Regions from separate parts of the Homo sapiens genome. Here regions 1, 2, 4 and 5 are each linked to region 3. Evidence: promoter capture Hi-C in 16 types of primary human blood cells and fetal thymus (Javierre and others, 2016). All regions are on one chromosome and are shown on one strand. The core of a region is centred on a gene start or on the middle of the fragment in contact, and the rest is flanking DNA. Distances in the headings are between cores, read along the strand shown. Region 1 overlaps FASTKD2 (FAST kinase domains 2). Region 2 overlaps PIKFYVE (phosphoinositide kinase, FYVE-type zinc finger containing). Region 3 holds the start of METTL21A (methyltransferase 21A, HSPA lysine). Region 4 overlaps DYTN (dystrotelin). Region 5 overlaps PIKFYVE (phosphoinositide kinase, FYVE-type zinc finger containing).

The links. The method cuts DNA at HindIII sites, captures the fragments that hold promoters and counts their contacts. A CHiCAGO score of 5 or more calls a contact.
Region 1: a fragment that was not itself captured here is called in contact with the fragment with the promoter of METTL21A in region 3 in 9 of 17 cell types (activated CD4 T cells, naive B cells, fetal thymus and 6 more); the score reaches 8.1 in activated CD4 T cells.
Region 2: a fragment that was not itself captured here is called in contact with the fragment with the promoter of METTL21A in region 3 in 1 of 17 cell types (total B cells); the score reaches 5.4 in total B cells.
Region 4: a fragment that was not itself captured here is called in contact with the fragment with the promoter of METTL21A in region 3 in 2 of 17 cell types (activated CD4 T cells and naive CD4 T cells); the score reaches 6.3 in activated CD4 T cells.
Region 5: a fragment that was not itself captured here is called in contact with the fragment with the promoter of METTL21A in region 3 in 2 of 17 cell types (M0 macrophages and M2 macrophages); the score reaches 5.7 in M0 macrophages.

What each region holds. Positions count from the first base shown.
Region 1 is chr2:206,773,009-206,776,503 of GRCh38, reverse strand. FASTKD2 (FAST kinase domains 2) reads right to left here. Exons shown (of 12, transcript NM_001136193.2): 7 at 2,107-2,279. Among named protein-coding and RNA genes, the nearest start is that of MIR3130-2, 8.5 kb to the left of the region's middle. The HindIII fragment of the contact is 1,335 bases long and covers 706-2,040 here.
Region 2 is chr2:208,274,772-208,278,431 of GRCh38, reverse strand. PIKFYVE (phosphoinositide kinase, FYVE-type zinc finger containing) reads right to left here. Exons shown (of 42, transcript NM_015040.4): 4 at 1,602-1,720; 5 at 724-895. Among named protein-coding and RNA genes, the nearest start is that of PIKFYVE, 10 kb to the right of the region's middle. The HindIII fragment of the contact is 177 bases long and covers 1,334-1,510 here.
Region 3 is chr2:207,623,519-207,627,273 of GRCh38, reverse strand. METTL21A (methyltransferase 21A, HSPA lysine) reads left to right here and starts at 1,880. Exons shown (of 4, transcript NM_001127395.5): 1 at 1,880-2,212; 2 at 2,870-3,045. The coding sequence starts at 2,899. RefSeq lists enhancers at 7-709, 710-1,414 and a silencer at 1,685-2,284. The HindIII fragment of the contact is 10,824 bases long and covers 1-3,755 here.
Region 4 is chr2:206,685,566-206,689,010 of GRCh38, reverse strand. The region is part of intron 9 of DYTN (dystrotelin); the gene reads left to right. It also overlaps the pseudogene VPS26CP1. Among named protein-coding and RNA genes, the nearest start is that of DYTN, 31 kb to the left of the region's middle. The HindIII fragment of the contact is 1,117 bases long and covers 708-1,824 here.
Region 5 is chr2:208,311,926-208,315,912 of GRCh38, reverse strand. PIKFYVE (phosphoinositide kinase, FYVE-type zinc finger containing) reads right to left here. Exons shown (of 42, transcript NM_015040.4): 13 at 3,618-3,677; 14 at 1,490-1,619; 15 at 540-720. Among named protein-coding and RNA genes, the nearest start is that of PIKFYVE, 48 kb to the right of the region's middle. The HindIII fragment of the contact is 3,644 bases long and covers 180-3,823 here.

The DNA.
Region 1 (3,495 bases), core at 124-2,623, 850 kb after region 3:
AAAACTACAAAATTCCTAAAAGAAAATGTGTAGGAGAAGCCTGATGGCATTGGCTTAGTTAGGCAATGATTTTTTTTATATGATACCAAAAGTGCAGGCAACAAAAGCAAATACAGACAAGGAGAACTATATCAAACTAAAAAGCTGCACAGCAAAGGAAACAGTCAACAAAGTGAAAAAGCAACCTACAGAATGGGAGAAAATATTTGCAAACCATACATATGATAAGCAGTTATTATCCAAAATATATAAGGAATTCCTGTAACTCATATATTTATGCTTATTGCTATAAGTTTATATAAAACTTAATGCTTTAAGTTTTCTTGTCAGGATTGCTTTTTCTGCATCCCATAATATATATATTATATATATATTTGTAGTATGTTTACACATTATAACATACTGTAACTGAATAGCAAAAATAATAATATGATTTAAAAATAGGCAAAGGACTTAAATATTTCTCCAAAGAAGACATACAAATGGCCAACAGGTATGTGAAAACATGGTCAACATCACTAATCATCAGGGAAATGCAAATCAAAACCACAATGAGATATCACTTTACATCTGTTAGGACGGCCATTATCAAAAAAACAAAACAAAACAAAATCTAACAAGTGTTGGAGAAGATGTGGAGAAATTGGAACCCTTGCACAATGTTGATAGGACTACAAAATGGTGCATGGAAAACAGTATGAAGCTTCCTTGAAAAATGTAAAAGTAGAACTACTACCTAGTAAAGAAAAGCCCAGGACCAAACTGCTTCACTGCTGAATTCTACCAAACATTTAAGGAAGAACTAATACTAATCCTACTCAAACTATTCCAAAAAGCAGAGAAGGAGGGAATACTTCCAAACTCATTCTACAAGTCCAGTATTACCCTGATACCAAAATCAGACAAAGACACATCAAAAAAAACAAAAAACAAACAAAAAAACTACAGCACAGTATCTCTGATGAAGATTGATGCAAAAATCCTCAAAAAAAATACTAGCAAACCAAATTCAACAATACATTAGAAAGATTATTCATTATGACCAAGCAGGATTTATCCCTGGGATGCCAGGATGGTTCAACATATGCAAATCAATCAATATGATACATCATATCAACAGAATAAAGGATAAAAACCATATGATCATTTCAACTGATGCTAAAAAAAAAAAAGGCATTTGGTAAAAGTAGAACCCTTAGTAAAAGCAGAATCCCTGTATGATCCAGGGATCTCACTTGTGGATATATTTCAATTCATAAGAATTGAAATGAGAATCTCAAAGAGACATCTGCACTCCCATGTTAAGTGCAGCATTGTTTGCAATAGCCAAGATAGGGAAACAACCTAAACATCCATCAGCAGATGAATGGATAAAGAAAATGTGATATATACATATAATGGAATATTATTCAGCCTTAGAAGGAAATCTCATCACATGCTACAATGTGGATCAACTTGAAGGGCATTATGCTAACTGAAATAAGCTAGTCATAGAAGGACAAATACCGCATGACTCCACTTATATAAAGTATCTAAAAAGGTCAGTCATAGAAACAGAGATTACAATGTTGATTGTCAGGGGTGAGGAAAGGGGGAAATAGGGGAGTTGCTATTCAACAGGTATAAAGTTTCAGTTATGCAAGATGATTAAGTCCTAGAGATCCACTGTACAATATTGTTAACTATATCATTAATAATAAAGTCAGCAATATTGTACTGCACACTTTAAAATTTACTAAATGTTCTTACCATAATAAAAAAAGTCAAATTTTTTAAAAGACAGATTTCTCCATTTTTTAATACAGTTAAAATAAACTATGAACTTAGGAGCTACGAGGATAAGCTGGGAGGGTTTGAAATCAAACTCCTATAATGAATTAACTAATACATTATAAAGAACAAAGAAACAAACAAGACAAAGGGCAGCAAATATAAAACAAAATTTTGTTTAACCTTATAAATGAGTAAGGAACACTATGTTTTATTTATTGGCATGGATGATGACTATGGGTGTGTTCACTTGTAATAATTCATTAAGCTTATGATTTATAACCTTTTTTGTAAGTTATATGGCAATAAAAAAGGTAAAAAAAAACAAGTACATACTCTTTGTTCTGGCATTTGTAGACATGATTGAGAGAAGAGTAAGTATGAAGAATAGATAGAATGTTTTTCATGTTTAGGGATTCAGGATCCTCTACTATTCTCTTCATAAACAGGTCCATTAAACCAACAGGTCGAAAGCCAAGGTTTTCAAATAAAATGAGGATAAAAAGAACCTTAAAAAGAGAAAATTGAGGGAAAACTCTATAATAATTACAGTATGCTAATAGTAATTTTTTAGATCTCAAAAAATCTAAGCAGCAATTCAACTGTCCTGATCAACAGAATATATCCTGAAACAGAATATTTCCATGAAAAGGAACAATCATCTTTCTCTCACAAAATCTGTTCTATTAATTCTTGAATTGGGTATCAAGTTAATAAGCAATCTTTTTTAAGCTGAGAACCAGGGCATACAATGATTTCTACGTTTCCATCTGATTTAAAAATAAATCTCTTCCTACATGCTTTTCATACAACATATCTGAAAATTACTTTTAAATATGCCTTTTCTGAAGGTTTTCAAAATGACCAACTCAATCTTGAACTTCTCGCATTCCCAAACTTAAATACTTCCTAGATTCTAACATGTAAGACATAACCCCAAAATTTCTATATTTAATATTCATACCTATAAGTGAAAATGGAACTGAAACATTATGATTAAAATAAACTTTCAAGTTCACCTCCAATTTCCTTCTCAATCTTTCTTACTTAGGATTATTACTTCTCTTTCTATAACCAATTTCCACAGTAAACTCAATATTTACCTTACTCTCCAAAATAAACTGAACCTAGAGATCTAACAGTTATCACCTATTTCATTGCAAAAAGAAGTTTTTACCAGGTGCTTCATTAAATGTTTATATTCTTAACACAGCTCCTGATTTTAAAGGCTTTTACTCTGGATAAAACAATGGACATGACCATTAAGTAGTGACATTTTATTCTTCAAAAACCCCAAGCCTGTCACATCACCCATCTTTATTATTTGAAATCTAACAAGAACAAAGTATAAACACGGAAATCATGCTAAATATCTAACAAAAGTACCATACAACCCTTTTTTTTTTTTTTTTTTTTTGAGACAGAGTTTTGATCTTTATTGCCCAGGCTGGAGTACAGTGGCACAATCTCAGCTTACTGCAACCTCCACCTCCCAGGTTCAAGTGGTCCTCCTGCCTCAGCCCCCCTAGTAGCTGGGATTACAGGGACACGTCACCATGCCCGGCTACTTTTTGTATTTTTAGTAGAGATGGGGTTTCACCATGTTGGCCAGGCTGGTCTTGAACTCCTGACCTCAGGTGATCCACCCACCTTGGCCTCCCAAAGTGCTGGGATTACAGGCGTGAGCCACCGCGCCCAGCCCATACAACCCTTTTAAAACGAAAA
Region 2 (3,660 bases), core at 173-2,672, 650 kb before region 3:
AAAGTTGAAATTATTACCAAAAAAAAAAAGAAATACAAGTAATTTTCAAACAAAAAAGCTGTTGTAAAAGCTAATGGGGTTCTGGGTGACAGATAATGGGATTCTGAACTCTGTAGTAGTTTAGGTGGAAAAAAAAATGAGCAGACAGAAAGATCTTCACAATAACAAAAATAACATGAGAGAGATGTTAGGAGTTTTGTTTTTCAGGTAATTTCTGACTATCTTCTACTCCCAAATCACTGTATAAATCAACATACCATTGTTCAGTTTTTTCTGTTTCAAGAAATAACTTAAATTTTCTGTACTGCTGAAATTTGACTATGTTCCTTATGGAGGAATCTGAGTAAGACACAATTCACTGCCAAAGCACAGTGTCATGTAATTACGTCAAGGAAGATCTGTCCTTTTAAAATGAAAACTCTCATAGTGATTTAAATTAGTAATCTACTCTAACGATCTTGTCTAATAAATTTTAATGTTCCTATAGTTTTTTGCTAGCATCTACAATAAATACACTTTTACTCTAGTTATTTATGATAAGTCCCATCTACTGTATTATTCAATAGGAAAGTTCTTAAAAGCAAAGCTGTCTCCCTCACCTTTGTGTCCCCATGTCTTACACATAAAACCCAAAATGAAAATTGGCTTAACACTATCCTGTATTATAAGTGTCTTATAGTTATGACCTTTAAAAATTGTAAACTGGCAATAAAATGCATTTACCTGTATAGCCCATAAATTTTCCAGGGATTTCTTGATTACAGCAACGACTGCAGAAAATCTGCCCACATAGTCGGCAATGGTGTCTGCGCCTAAAGGTTGTAAATTTCTCACTACAGTCATAGCACTCTTTACATTGGCTATCTGGCATCCAGTATTGTTTCAGGTCACTATCCTATAACAATAAAAATGTGTGAAGGCTTCTTGAAAATACTGATTATTAATATGCAATGGCAAATGAAATCCTCAAAGGTTTCTTTTGCAGAAAACAAACTAATTCAAAAATTCATATGGGAATACGAAAGGTCAAAATAACCAAGACAATCTTGAAGAAGAACAAATTGAAGGACTTAATATTACCAGCCATCAAGACTTATTCTTAATGCTACAATAATTTTAGACAGGGTACTGGTACAAGGATAGAAAAAAATAAAGGTATGGAACAGAAAAAGAGAGCCCTGACACACCCTCACACATATATGGACTTACGGTGGAATTTATAATGCAATCAGTGAAAGATGGTCTTTTCAAAAACAATGGTACTATATCCAACTGGACATCCATGAGGAAAAATGGAAGCCTGACCCCTATACTTGACAGAAATAATAAAGCTTCTTGAAGAAACCATAGGAGAATATCTACTGCCCTGAACTAGATAAACACTTCTTAAACAGAACGCGAAAAGCACTAAGGATAACGGGAAAAAAACTGATAAATTAGACTACAATAAAATTAAGAACTTATGTATAAAAATAGGGTGCTCACAGCTGGAGGAAGCGCTAATTAAGCTTTCTTTCAGTGGCATTAAGCCATTTTCATTAGGTATGGCATGATCCCCATAAGCGCTTAATAAGTAATCTTCCAAAGCCTCTAGACAGTACCTGGCTTTTCCCCTCCATGATTTCCTTGAGGCGTTTTAATACTGTGCTGAGGCTTCGAAGCTGAACAGCTGTACGAGGGTCATGACCTCCAAAGGTAGGTTCTGCTTTCCTTCTTGTGTCTGAGTTGGATTAAAAAAAAAGCAACCTTGTTAACAGTCCCTAGTATCTATATACAACAAGGTATATATGTGATGGAAACTGCCTCTTATTGTTGGCATATAATTATGTTCTCCCACCCGGTTATATGAATTGAGAGTTAAAACAAGTCTTTATAAGGGTAAGAGGCTACTGAAAGTATTTCTTCTCATGTAAAATGCTGTTTTACAAGCGAGTCAAGGCTGCCTAAGACAAGCATTGTCTGAGACCATTGATGGTTTTCAGGCCTGGAATGGGAACATCACTTAAATGGTCCAAAATTCATTAATGACTCCTTAAGCCCTTTGGTCCAACCTATAATAAATGCATGCTAGAAATTTAGCAGAAGAAAAAGCAATCAAGGAGGGTTAACTTAGCTTGGTCTCTAAAGTCAAACAGGTAAGCAATAGGATCAAACAGTTCAGTTCTGTCTATATCTGTAGACCATATATCCAAAGTCTCATACAGAAGATGATCAGAAAGAAGTTTAATAGCCCAGCCTTCAAAGATTCTGACAGACTTCACAACATCCAGGATGGCAAATTTTGCCATGGTAAAACCTGACCTATGTCCAAGCAAATTAAAACTGCCAGAAAATTGCTAAAACTCCAATCCTATCCTTCCCTGTCACTTCCCCAACCCCACAGCTCCAAATAGGAAAGGATCATTTATACCTGACATAGCAATACTGAAGCCAAATCTATCACTAATAAGCCCAAATTCCAGCCTCATGGCCAAAATAGGGTATGCCCACCAAAGTTGTCACTTATTATTTCCTTAATTTAGACCAAAATTACAACTGAAGTTTCTGCCTATTTCTGGCAGTTACAAAACCTAAGCATGAAGCAAAGACGTTTTGACAAAAAGGATGAACATCCTATTAGCTTAAACCCATCAAACTGATAACCTATGGCAAAGTAAACTGGAAAATACCCCACTCTGAATCTTCCTCAAACTCACCATTTGCTAGATAGGTGCTGTTTTGGCTGGGAGGGAAAAAAAAGAATTACAAAGAAATGAGAGGTTGGGATCTAAAGTTTACAAAGAATTTCCCAAGATAATGTAATCACTGAAGTAACTACCAAAATTGTACCTATTTTAGAAAACTTTGGCAACTTTTATCTTTCTATAAAGTTATATCTTAATTTTAGCACATACCTCAGATGTGTTGCTACTGTATTAGAATAACTAAACTTGAGTCTCAAAACAAAAAACAACTCCCCATGATCTACAAATTGAAAAAGAAGACAGATGAAGCTACTGGAAACATAATGGCTGTGCTTCCGTGCAGCAGGCAAAAACTTGTGAAGTCCCTGGCATTTAGCCAATTAGGAATATAAGAAAGTAGTAATAGCATCATCCGCTGAAAAAGGATGAGTGAGACCCTTCTTGGAACCAAGAGAATCACAGATGTTGGCTGAAGATGAAAGAAACCCAGAGAGAAAATCTGGTCTAGCTCTATGCCCTTAGGCAAATAGCCTTAGCTGCTTCTCTTGCAAAATGAACATTAGAAAATTAAATAACTTTCCTAAGGTCGGAAAGCTAGTAAATTATAGAATTACAGCCCTTTTAATAGGGAAAAGAACTTGACTGGCCAAATAACACCAGGCTTCTGAAGCTCAAATGCCTTCAAGATAGAATCAAATAATCAAGCAGACTTGAGAAGGACAGTAAGGAAACTAGACAGTAAAGGCTCCACCTGGAGATATTAAAGTTCAAGTTGATCATAATACCAATGGCAAGGTTTGGCAGGCTGCCAATTTGTAACTCCTAAAATATTACATTTTAGTCTAACTTGATTTTAGAAATAAAAAAATCCTACACTCAATTCAGCATGGGATTTAGTCAAAACAGCTCCCTCAACAAAAAGAGTGTTGTTGTGAGTCAGATTCAAGAGCTAAGGAGAGTTTATTGAGGTTAAAAG
Region 3 (3,755 bases), core at 631-3,130:
TCCCACCGCGGGAAGCAGGCTCCCGGGGGCGGCCCCGGGAGCTCTTAAAAATATCAGCGCTTGCCGGGCGCGGTGGCTCATGCCTGTGATCCCAGCACTTTGCGAGGCCGAGGCGGGTGGATCACCTTTAGTCATGAGTTCGAGACCAGTCTGGCCAACGTGGTGAAACCCCCGTCTCTACTAAAAATACAAAAATTAGCCAGTCGTGGTGGTGGGCCCCTTAATCTAAGCTACTTGGAGGCTGAGGCAGGAGAATCCCTTGAACCTGGGAGGCGGAGGTTGCAGTGAGCCGAGATCATGCCATTGCACTCCACCCTGGGTGACAAGAGCGAAACTCTGAATAATAATAATAAAAAAAAAAAATCAGCGCTCGGGCGGTAGGGGTGGGGGAGGTGGCAGTGGTTCACACCTGTAATCCCGCATTTTGGGAGGCTGAGATGAGCGGATCACCGGAGATCAGGAGTTCAAGGCCAGCCTGGCCAACATGGTGAAGCCCCGTCTCTACTAAAAACACAAAAAAAGCCGGGTGTGGCGGCGGGCGCCTGTAATTCCAGCTACTTTGGAGGCTGAGGCAGGAGAACTGCTTGAACCCGGGAGGTGGAGGCTGCAGTGAGCCGAGATCGCGCCACTGCACTCCAGCCTGGCGACAGAGCAAGACTCCGTCTCAAACAAACAAACAAAATCCCACAAAAATTAGCTGGCGTGCTGGCGCAGGCCTGTAATCCTAGCTACACGGGAGAATGAGGCAGGAGAATCGCTTGAACCCGGAAGGCGGAGACTGCAGTGAGCCGAGTTCGCGCCCTTGCACTCCAGCCTGGGCGACAGAGAGAGACTCCGTCTCAAAACAAAAACAAAAACAAAAACAAAAGCAAAAAACCAAACAAAAAAATCAGCGCTCGGGCCCCCTCCCATGGCCAGCTCTTGGGGCGGGGGACTGGTAAGGGAGGTTTACCCCAGCTGGTTCTAACGTGCAGCCGCGCTGAGAGCGCAGCGGGCGGTGTGGGGCGAGGGGCCCCAGGAGGAAAAAGAAGCCTGCCCCGGGAGGATGCCGGTCCCCGCACGGTCCCACTCAATGGACCCACTCCAGCCGCGCGCTCTGCCAGGGCCTGCGGCCAGGGTACCAGGCCCTCGGCACCTTCCACGTCCAGCGTGGGTCCTCACGGGCAGGTGCGTCTTGGCATCGGGAGGAGGGAGACTGGGGCACTGGAGTCTGCAGCGCCGCCTGGGGCCGGGGCTGGAGCCGAGCGCACGCCCAGAGCTCCGCGCTTCCGACTGCAGCCAGAGCCCGCCGACCCCCGCCCCACTTTAAAAACTTGGACTCGGGCGCCACGTGTTCACTTCCCCCACTGTGCTTTAGTTGAAAAGGGTTTTGTGACTTTTCCACTCGATTGCCGCCAAGCGGGCTATTACGCCGCTTCTGACCCCACCGTGGAGACGCGGGGACTAGAGTGACCATGCCTTCTTCGGAGCGAGCTGTCTCCATCATCCGCTAACGCGCCACCTTTAAAAAACAGGCACAACGCGCAAGCGACAAAGTCAGAGGCAGAGAGCGGCGGAGCACATGATAGAAAAGGTCGAGAGGCACATTCAGCGCCAGGTGGGTGGCTTTTCTCTCCCGCTAGGAGAGCCCAGGGCACCCCATGCTCTCCCTGTGCACCCGCGGCAGTTCGGCACCCCGATCTCACTCTTGCTCCCGCCCCCACAGCGCCTCCCTCGGCGGCGGGGGAAACGGATTAAGTCGTCCGTGTACCCTGGGGACGCACGAGGGAAAGCCCCGGTCCCCCCTCCCGCAACGTCACTCCTCCACCGCGCCACGGCCCGGCCCCGCCCTCGCCGTGAGCTCCGGGGGCACCTGCCGGAGGCTGGGTGCCGGGAGACCGGAAATGCGTGGCTCCGGGCCGGGGCCGCCCGCCCCCGCGTCGCGGGCTCTTTAAGGCCGGCGGTTTTCGCAGCCAGCCCGGGGCGGGGAAAGCGGAGCGCGCGCTCCACGCGGGACCGCCTCCCGGGCCGTAAGTACCGGCGTGGCGGCGCCTCAGCCCGGCCTGGGCGAGCCCTGGGTGCTCCGCCGGGCAGCTCACGGCGCCCCGTATGGCCTGGGGATCCTAAGAGGCCCTGTGACCCCCCTCGCCTGGTCTCCCTCTCACCCCTGGAGGGTTGCCGCAGCTCCGGGGCCCCCGGGCAGGAAGGGCGCACTGGTCGTCCCGGGAGAGGGGTGAGTGGGGGGCAGCTATAGGGGGAGTTCGGGGAGGCCTCCGAGTCCCCGCTGTCCCCGCGAGCCGCTTGGAGGCCCCCAGTGTCGCTCACTTCCAGGGTCGGGGAGACGGAACTGCGGCGACCATGTATTTCTGGTTTATCAAACCGCTAACACCCAGTCTAAGGGCAGGTTCTGTCCCATTGTTATCACTATCGAAGCAGCCGATGGAGGAGGGGAGGTGGGTAGCGAAACCGTAGCGAAAGAACCCGGGCCGCCCGGCTGGCTGCAGCTGCAGTCCGGGCGCCCGGGTCTGGGTTGGAAGCGCTGCTTTCCGCGCTGCTCTGGGGCCCTGGGCGATCACCGCCGCTTCCGCCGCTTGTGTAGTTCTGAATTCACGGAGTGGTAGCAGTGCAGTGTATAGGGTATTCTGCGGAAGTTGGAATGTTCTGGGCTTTTTTTTTCTTCTTCCCCAAACACATCCGTTGACACAAATTCCGAGCCAAATCTCACTCAGATTCGGAAGAGCCATGCAAAAGAAATTGGACAAAGGCTTCCTCCACCTGTTTCTTTTTTTCTTTTGAACTTGTAAACGACCTTAAAAGCATTTGGAGTTAGTTAAGAACAGATAATGTATCTTTTGGCCAGAGCGTCACCCAGGATTCTTTTGCACGGCAGGTCTGAGCAGAGGGCGGGGTGCAGGCGGAATGGCCCTCGTGCCCTATGAGGAGACCACGGAATTTGGGTTGCAGAAATTCCACAAGCCTCTTGCAACTTTTTCCTTTGCAAACCACACGATCCAGATCCGGCAGGACTGGAGACACCTGGGAGTCGCAGCGGTGGTTTGGGATGCGGTAAGTAAGCCCTGGGGGACCTCTGAAAACGTTCACACTTGCAAGACTGGCTTTTATTTTTTATTTTTTTTAGAACAGCTTTATTGAGATATAATTCACATAGCATACACTTTACCTATTTAAAGTGCACAATTCAGTGCGGTTTTAAAAATACAGTATATTCACAGAGTAGTGCAACTATTACCGCTTCAATTTTAAAAGTTTTACTATCACTGCCACTCTCAAACCCGTATCCCTTAGTCACTCCTCTTGTCCCTCCACATAGATTACATTTTAAAGGTGTAAATGAAAGCTGAGGAAAGTTAATGACTTGTCGGAGAGGATAGGAAGGAAAGCCCCCAACTGCTTTGGACACGAGTTAGTCTTTTTTTCTTTTGAGACATAGTCTCGTTCTGTTGCCCAGGCTGGAGTGCAGTGGTGCGATCCTGGCTCAATGCAGCCTCCGCTTCCTGGGTTCAAGTGATTCTCCCACCTCAGCCTCTGGAGTAACTGGGGCTACAGGTGCACGCCACCACACCTGGTTAATTTTTGTATTTTTTGGTAGAGATGGGGTTTCGACATGTTGGCCAGGCTGATCTGGAACTCCTGACCTCAAGTGATCCACCTGCCTCAGCCTCCCAAAGTGCTGGGATTACAGGCGTGAGCCACAGCGCCCAGCCGAGTTAGTCTCTTTATTTCACAGAGTATTGTAAAGTGGCAGAGCCCAAAAT
Region 4 (3,445 bases), core at 17-2,516, 940 kb after region 3:
AAACCCCAAGTAACTAGCAAAAATTACTAGAATTAATAGGCTTCAAATGATGGTGGAAAAATAAAATAAACATATACAAAATTCTTCACTCTACTAGCAATAACCAGCTATAAATTTTGTAAGAATCTCATTCAAAATACATGTAAAAATTATTTTTAAAAGAAACTACAAAAAAGTTTAACAAAAAAGATACAAGACCCAAATAAAATTATAATATTTTATTGAGTACAGAAAACAAGTCCTGAACAAAAGGAAAAAATGCCAAATTTCTAAATGAGAAGACTAGCATAAGAATGTACCTGCTCCAAAAATTAATAGCTGATTTTTGTTATTTGCAGATTCAATACTTACAAATTTGCCTACTTGCAAAAATTTATTTGTAACCCTAAAATTAACACTCCTGGTGCTTTTTCAGTATTTGCAGACATAAGCAGAGTGGCAAAAAAATTTTGAGTTGCCTGATGCACGTGTTCCCAGCTGAGGTCAAACCAGATAGTGCTCTGTGTTACTGTTTCAGCCCTCATTCTATAAGCAAGTGTCCTTTTCGTGTCTATTTTGTGTCTTGTTTTTTTATATTTGTGCTTTTTGTTGGTGATTTTACTTTGGCAAATGGCCCCAAAGCACGGTACTGAATTGCTGTCTAGTGTTCCCAAGCACAGCAAGGCTACGATGTGCCTTAATGAAAAAATACACACGTTAAATAAGCTTCATTCAGGTATGATTTATATTGCTGTTGACCATGAGTTTAATGCTAATGAATCAACAATATATATTTAAAAAGCATCTTTATACAGAAACACATAAAACAAGGTTGTGCATTGATTGGTTGACAAAAATATTGTGGCCAGAGGCTTGCAGGAACCTAACCCTGTATTTTCTCTAGGAACAATGGGTTCAGTATTTCCTAATTCACTGTTCATGGTAGCCTTATAGAGCATAATCTACTGTATTTAAATTTAATGCATTTCCAGATAGAATCACAAGGTTTTCTAAATAGGATAAAATAATTTTGAAGGTATGTTGGAAGAATAGTTGTACAAGAATAGTAAAATTATGAGACTGAAGAATAGTGAGAGACATTAATATCTGAAGAACAGATGTTAATACAACAGATATTAACACTTACTATAAAACTACTATGACCAAATAATATAGTATAAAACGGGAATGAACATGTAGGTCTAAGGATGAGAATACAAAATATAATAATTGATCTAAGCATATATGGGAACCTAATATATGATAAAGGTGATATTTCAATTCATGGAAAAATAATGCATAATTGGCTATCCATCTGAAAGGAAAATTGGCCCTTATTTTGCCCCATATACTAAAACAAATTCCAAATTGATTGAAATTTAAATGTAAAAAGAATTTAAAATAAATATTAGAAAAAAGAACATCTCCTAAGGAAGAAAGAAAAACAAAAAATCATGAAGGAATAGACAGATATATATGATAGCATGTAATTTTAAACATTTTGTTATGGTAAATGATAGTATAAACAAAATTAAAAATAAGCCCTAGACTTAGAAAAATATTTTCGGTAATAAGATAAATGATGCTATTAAAAGGGTCCCTGAAAAATTGATAAGAAAAACTTGATGTGAGGTCAGAAGTGTTGGCTGCTGTGGAGAATTCAAAACAGGGACCTCCCTGGACATCAAGATGGAAGAGCAAATAGTTTCTCATGCTGGAGAAATGCTCTCCAGTGTGGTGGTCGTATCTTGTAAGGATTCAGTCCCACATCAAGTAGTGTCTTTGACAATGGAAGGAATTGCAATCCCCCAGCTCAGTGCCAAAAGTGTGGGCAGTTTTGAAGCTTTTTATAATTCCATTAAACCTATCCAGATTATCAACAGTGCCATAGAAAGGATGAAGCCAGGGAAATTTCCCTATGGCAAAACAAATTTATTTCGCATTTCTTCTGTATGTGAGGGGTAACAAAGTTCTGTATGAGACTTATTATCAGACATTCAGTATACACTACGCTGTGACATGAGGCAGTCTCTGTTGACCAAGGACTTGACAAAGGCCGGTGAATTTACCATCCACTCTGCTCCTCAGGAGGGGAAGTTGACTCCAAGTCCTGTGGACTTCACAGATTATACCTGCAACCTTACAGAATATCAAAGAGAGAGCCTTGCTCCCCAGATTTCTCATTCGAGAACACCCCAACTCAATGAATTGTGTCATCGTGCAGCTGCTTACAGGAGAGCTGGTGGTGAAAAGGCATGGGGCTGCAACTGGTGCACATGGAGACCTGTGGGTGTGCAAAAAGCTATGCCAATGATGCCACAGAGTTTCCTTATATTCAGATGCCCATGGGGACATTTGTAGGGGCCTCTCTGTCCCTATATACATGGTCTTCTCCAGGCTGTTTACCTGCCGCATGCTGAAGACCAACTTCAAAGTGGAATTTGAGGCCACCATCGACATGCGTCTTCATGCTAACCACCTGGTCACAGAGAACTTCCTATTGCAGCTCTGCAGGACTCAGCCCAGGAGGAGGGAAGCACAGAAAACAGGGGTGGCCTTGTGGATATCCTGCTGGTTATCGTTCATGGGGAACTAAAGCCAGCAGTATATACTTGTTTTTGTGATTATTCTGTATCAGAAATGAAATGGACTCCTTAAATTACAATTATTTTTCCTCCTCATTTCTTCGAGGCTTCTACTTCCAAAAGTCACCTTTAATCATATCTTTTCTTTGAAATTCAACAGAATTTCTTAATGCTGTTTGCAAGATCATTTCACAGAAAACGTTTCCTGTGACTTACCTGTTCTTGTACCAAAAAAGGCACAGAAAACCTGTTGTGACAGCCATTGGAGCTGTGCTGGAAAGTAAGATCATGGGGGCAAAAGGAAACTTCTCTCTGACTCGCTAATAATGAAAGTAGCTGAGCACTCCCCACAGCAAAGGGTCTGTGGCCAGGTGGCATTGCTTATGAAGTTTGTAGATACCCTCCAAGGAAGAATGCAAAGTGGCATCCACTGGAAATGTGTAGCTTTTTTTTTTTTTTTCCGCACTCTATTTCTGTAGTTCTTTTTATAACATTTTTCAATATAACTTCAACATTTTTAGGGAACTGAGAAAAAAGCGTCCCTTGCTCTTATAGGAGTAAGGGGATTTGGCTGGTGCTGGAGTGTTTCTGAACTCTCAAGAACTGTCATAAGAACTCATGCTGCCATATTCCGGGAATATATTTAAATGCAAAGTTATGTAAGGGGAAAAAATGAATGTTTGCTCCTTTTGTTATAGGGAGGGTTCTGAATGGCAGGAGCCCCGTGCCCAGGGTGGGTGGGTGAAGGCTCCTCTCCCCAGGGTGGTGCCAGGAAAATGTCCTTGACTTGATGAACTTGGCCTGCCCCTCACCCACCTGAGGGACCTGTTTTATCCAGGGTTTTTTGACCTGAAGCCAGTGTTTCCTCAGTCTCCCTTTGT
Region 5 (3,987 bases), core at 752-3,251, 690 kb before region 3:
TGTACCCTAAAACTTAAAGTATAATAATAATTAAAAAAAAAGAAAGAGACATAAAAAAGTTAAAAAAAAAAATCGCAAAAAATGTCATAATGTTTTAAGAAGTTTATGAATTGGTGTTGGGCCAGATTCAAAGCAGTCTTGGGCTGCATGCAGCCCACAGGCCACGAGTGGGACAAGCTTGATCTAAATAAAGCAAATTACCCACTGCTTTTCCTCCAAACAGTGATCACAATCTGTGAGAACAGGCTTTCTCATAGCTGACTTGTCAAGAAGAGGAAGCAAGAAAGGAAGAACCTATCTCTGTTTGGGTTCCCAACTCATCTCCGATATAACTCATCCTTTCCATTGACCTTTCACTTCCTATGCGTGGCTTCCATGACTCCTAAGTGCGCTGCTAACAAAGCAGACAGCAAAACCTCCTACTCCTCACCTAGCACCCCTCAGGGTAATGACTCTTTTCAGATTACCATTAAGACAAAAATTACAATCAGTCCTGCCTCATCAGTTCCTAGCATTAGTAAAACATTAGCAGAGCTCACTTTTTTGATGTGGACAAACTGACGGATATCCATGTCATCATCCTGGTTCTTGACATCAGGTCGGACTGTCTGAACAACCTGGCAGACCAATGACACGATGATGTCCCTCCAAGATGATGACAGTGAGTCACTATGGAGCAACTGCTGGAGTAGTGCCATCATGTGGTTATGATTAGCTGAACTACAAAAATATTATAAGAAAGAAGTTTGCATAGTTAATACTGCCAGAGACAATAATTCTGATGATAAAACAAACAGCCTACAAAGAAATAAACATTTCAATTACGGCTCACAGATAAGATTTTCTAGGTCAATATCATTCTTTCATTATATCTGTACCTTAAGGATTTTGCATATAAATGAAATCTGAATATCTTCCACTAAGAAGTCCCCTGCAATTGACTGAAATGAAATTTTAACACGTAAAATGGGGACAGACAAGCACAGTTTGGGGCTTTTGTTTTTGTTTTTTTTCTCTGAGACGAAGTCTTGCTCTGTTGCCTAGGTTGGAGTGCAGTGGCGCGATCTCAGCTCACTGCAACCTCCGCCTCTTGAGTTCAAGCAATCCTCCTGTCTCAGCCTCTGAGTAGTTGGGATTACAGGCCAGCGCCACCACGCCTGGCTAATTTTTGTATTATTAGTAGAGACGGGGTTTTACCATGTTGGCCAGGCTGGTCTCAACCTTCTGAGCTTGTGATCCTCCCGCCTCAGCCTCCCAAAGTGCTGGGATTACAGGCGTGAGCCACTGCACCCAGCCGGGGCTCTTGGTTTTATAAGAAATTTAATCACAAGTCAAAATAGACTGTATTTCCTAAGTAACCTTAGTATTTTTTTACTTTCTAAGGAAAAAGAAAAAGACCTCCCTTTTTAAGAGGAATGATGCATATGCTTATCAAGTCACTGAAGATAATAAAAGTGAAAAATTAAAATTAAAAATTTCATTGCCTTACAGCAACCTCTCCATGGCTTGTTTCTCCCCATTCTCCTCCCTCAGGAGCTCCAGGTTGTTATGATGCCAGCCCAAAGGTGTGAAAGGCAGCTCTTTGGATTTTTCCTCTACTCGGCGATTAAATAAGGATTCTAAGTACAATATAAAATAAGAAGTTATTACTTCATTGTCCTGTTTTATACCATCTACTCATATATTTAGAAATTGCCCTTTGTCTTTATAAATGTTTTAAGTTAGCCAACATAAATTATTGGTGTAAAAAGGCAAGAACATGTAATAAACATATAAATAAAATGCATAAGAAAATACTTACAAATACATAAAATACACTAAAAATACAGAAATGCAAGAATTAAGAAGAGCAGTAATTGGCAACAGCCAAAATCAGAAACAGAACTGTGAAAATCAAATGTACGTAACTAAGACTCTCAAGCCAATAATTATAAGCACAGCTTCTGAAAAGCAAATAAAATGAAACTTTTGCTTCTCCTTTTAATTTTTAAAAACGAGGGTGTTAATTTCCCCTTTAAAATCACAAACTGGGCCGCGCGTGGTAGCTCACGCCTGTAATTCCAACACTTTGGGAGGCCGAGGTGGGCAGATCACCTGAGGTCAGGAGTTCGAGACCAGCCTGGCCAACATGGCGAAACTCCATCTCTGCTAAAAACACAAAAATTAGCTGGGCGTGTTGGCACACGCCTGTAATCCCAGCTACAAGGGAGGCTGAGGCAGGAGAATCACTTGAACCTAGGAGGCAGAGATTGCAGTGAGCCAAGATCGCACCACTGCACTCCAACCTGAGTGACAGAGCGAGACTCCATCTCAAAAAAAAAAAAAAAAAAATCACAAACTGAAAACTGCATTCAACAGAAATCTGAATGCTGGCAAAAGAACACATGATAGCGAGAGTGATGAATTTTCAAGAAAGAAGCTCAGCTCAGATATCACAAAACAACAGATGACAGTGTAGAAAGTCTATTCAGACAATCCTCAATAGTGTTTCTCTTTCAATATTGGCACAGGGGTTTTTTAACAAAATTTTAGCAAGACAGACTCAAAAACATAAATATTAAAACATAATAAATAGCATTTATGTAGAATTTGTGTAAAATCTTTAAATTTTTTAAAGGATGAATGAAAATAGATAAGACAAAAAATAAATAATAAATGCTTAACAAAAAAATATGTTCACTAAATAACTGTTGAATAATCTGACCAAATAAGTGGAAAGAAAAGAAGTGGGAAATGCTTACAAAAATTCTCTAACCTGTCCCCTCTTAAAAGCAAAACAAACAAACAAAAAAACTTCCACCAAACAGCCCAGCAGATTACACAGTAAAGTATATGTCCATGACATGTGAAGTACAAGAATTGCACATTTCAATTACATAAAGGGCCACTCTGTAAACTTCTAGCCGAACCAGATGCTTGGAGATGAATTTAGAAGCACTGCCAAGCTATCAGATAAGCTGCAGTGGCTCCTTGTACCCGCTTGCCTTCTCTCTTTGATCTGAAACCGTGGGAGCCAAGAAGGAAGAGAAATTTTCTCCCATTATCTGAGGCCTAACCAGTGGAGTACTATGGACTAAGAATGTCTTTACTCTAGGAAGCTAAGCTAAGCTAAGTAGGGAAGGAATAGGAGAAGGCTAATCTCCTTTTGTGTCCAAAAGAAATTTATCATCAGAGTTAGTTCTTTAACCTCTACTGCCTGCTTCTCTTCCTCACTCCACAGGGCAAGCAGCATCCTTAACTGGAGATCTGCCTGTGGGCTTTTTGACAAATTTGACAATCCTTGATGATATTTATATCAATACTTAATATTATATTCACAATACAGTTAAGTGTAAACTATGTCTTTAAAAGAATTAAGTTCAAATTCTACTTAAAAGTTTTTAAACAATTACTTTTCACATCAGAGACCTCCTTCTCGCAAACCAAGTCCAAGTTTACATTCTTGGTTCTCAACATTCTCTAAATCATTATATATATTAAAAACTGTGTTCCCATGATACCACCATAATCAAATATATTTTCAGCACCTTCTCTGTGCTAATCAATGTGCTAAGCCCTAAGTATATCCTCATGAAAAAAAGAGACACCATTCCACATACAGCTTTTTATAAAATTACCTTTGATGAAAGCGTCACTTATTGAGAGCTGTTGTCCTCCAGTGTCAGAAATCAAATACTCTGCATACCAGGGAGACAACAGAGAGGAGGAACAAAAGTAGAGACATATGACTATAACATGTCAGCATAATTATATAGAGAATACGCCCACACACAAAATATTACTCATACTAAACCCATCACTGCCCGGCAAATTCAAGAAAGCTTTGGGTAAAAATGCCTCTTTATACTTGTTCTATGCACTTCATACTAAACTTAAGCAGACTTGCATTAATAACACAATAGAGCCGTGAAAACAATTCTCCTTAATTCAAATGTCAGATAGAGAAATGTTTTTCTCTTACCAAAACCAACCGGTTTATGAAAATTA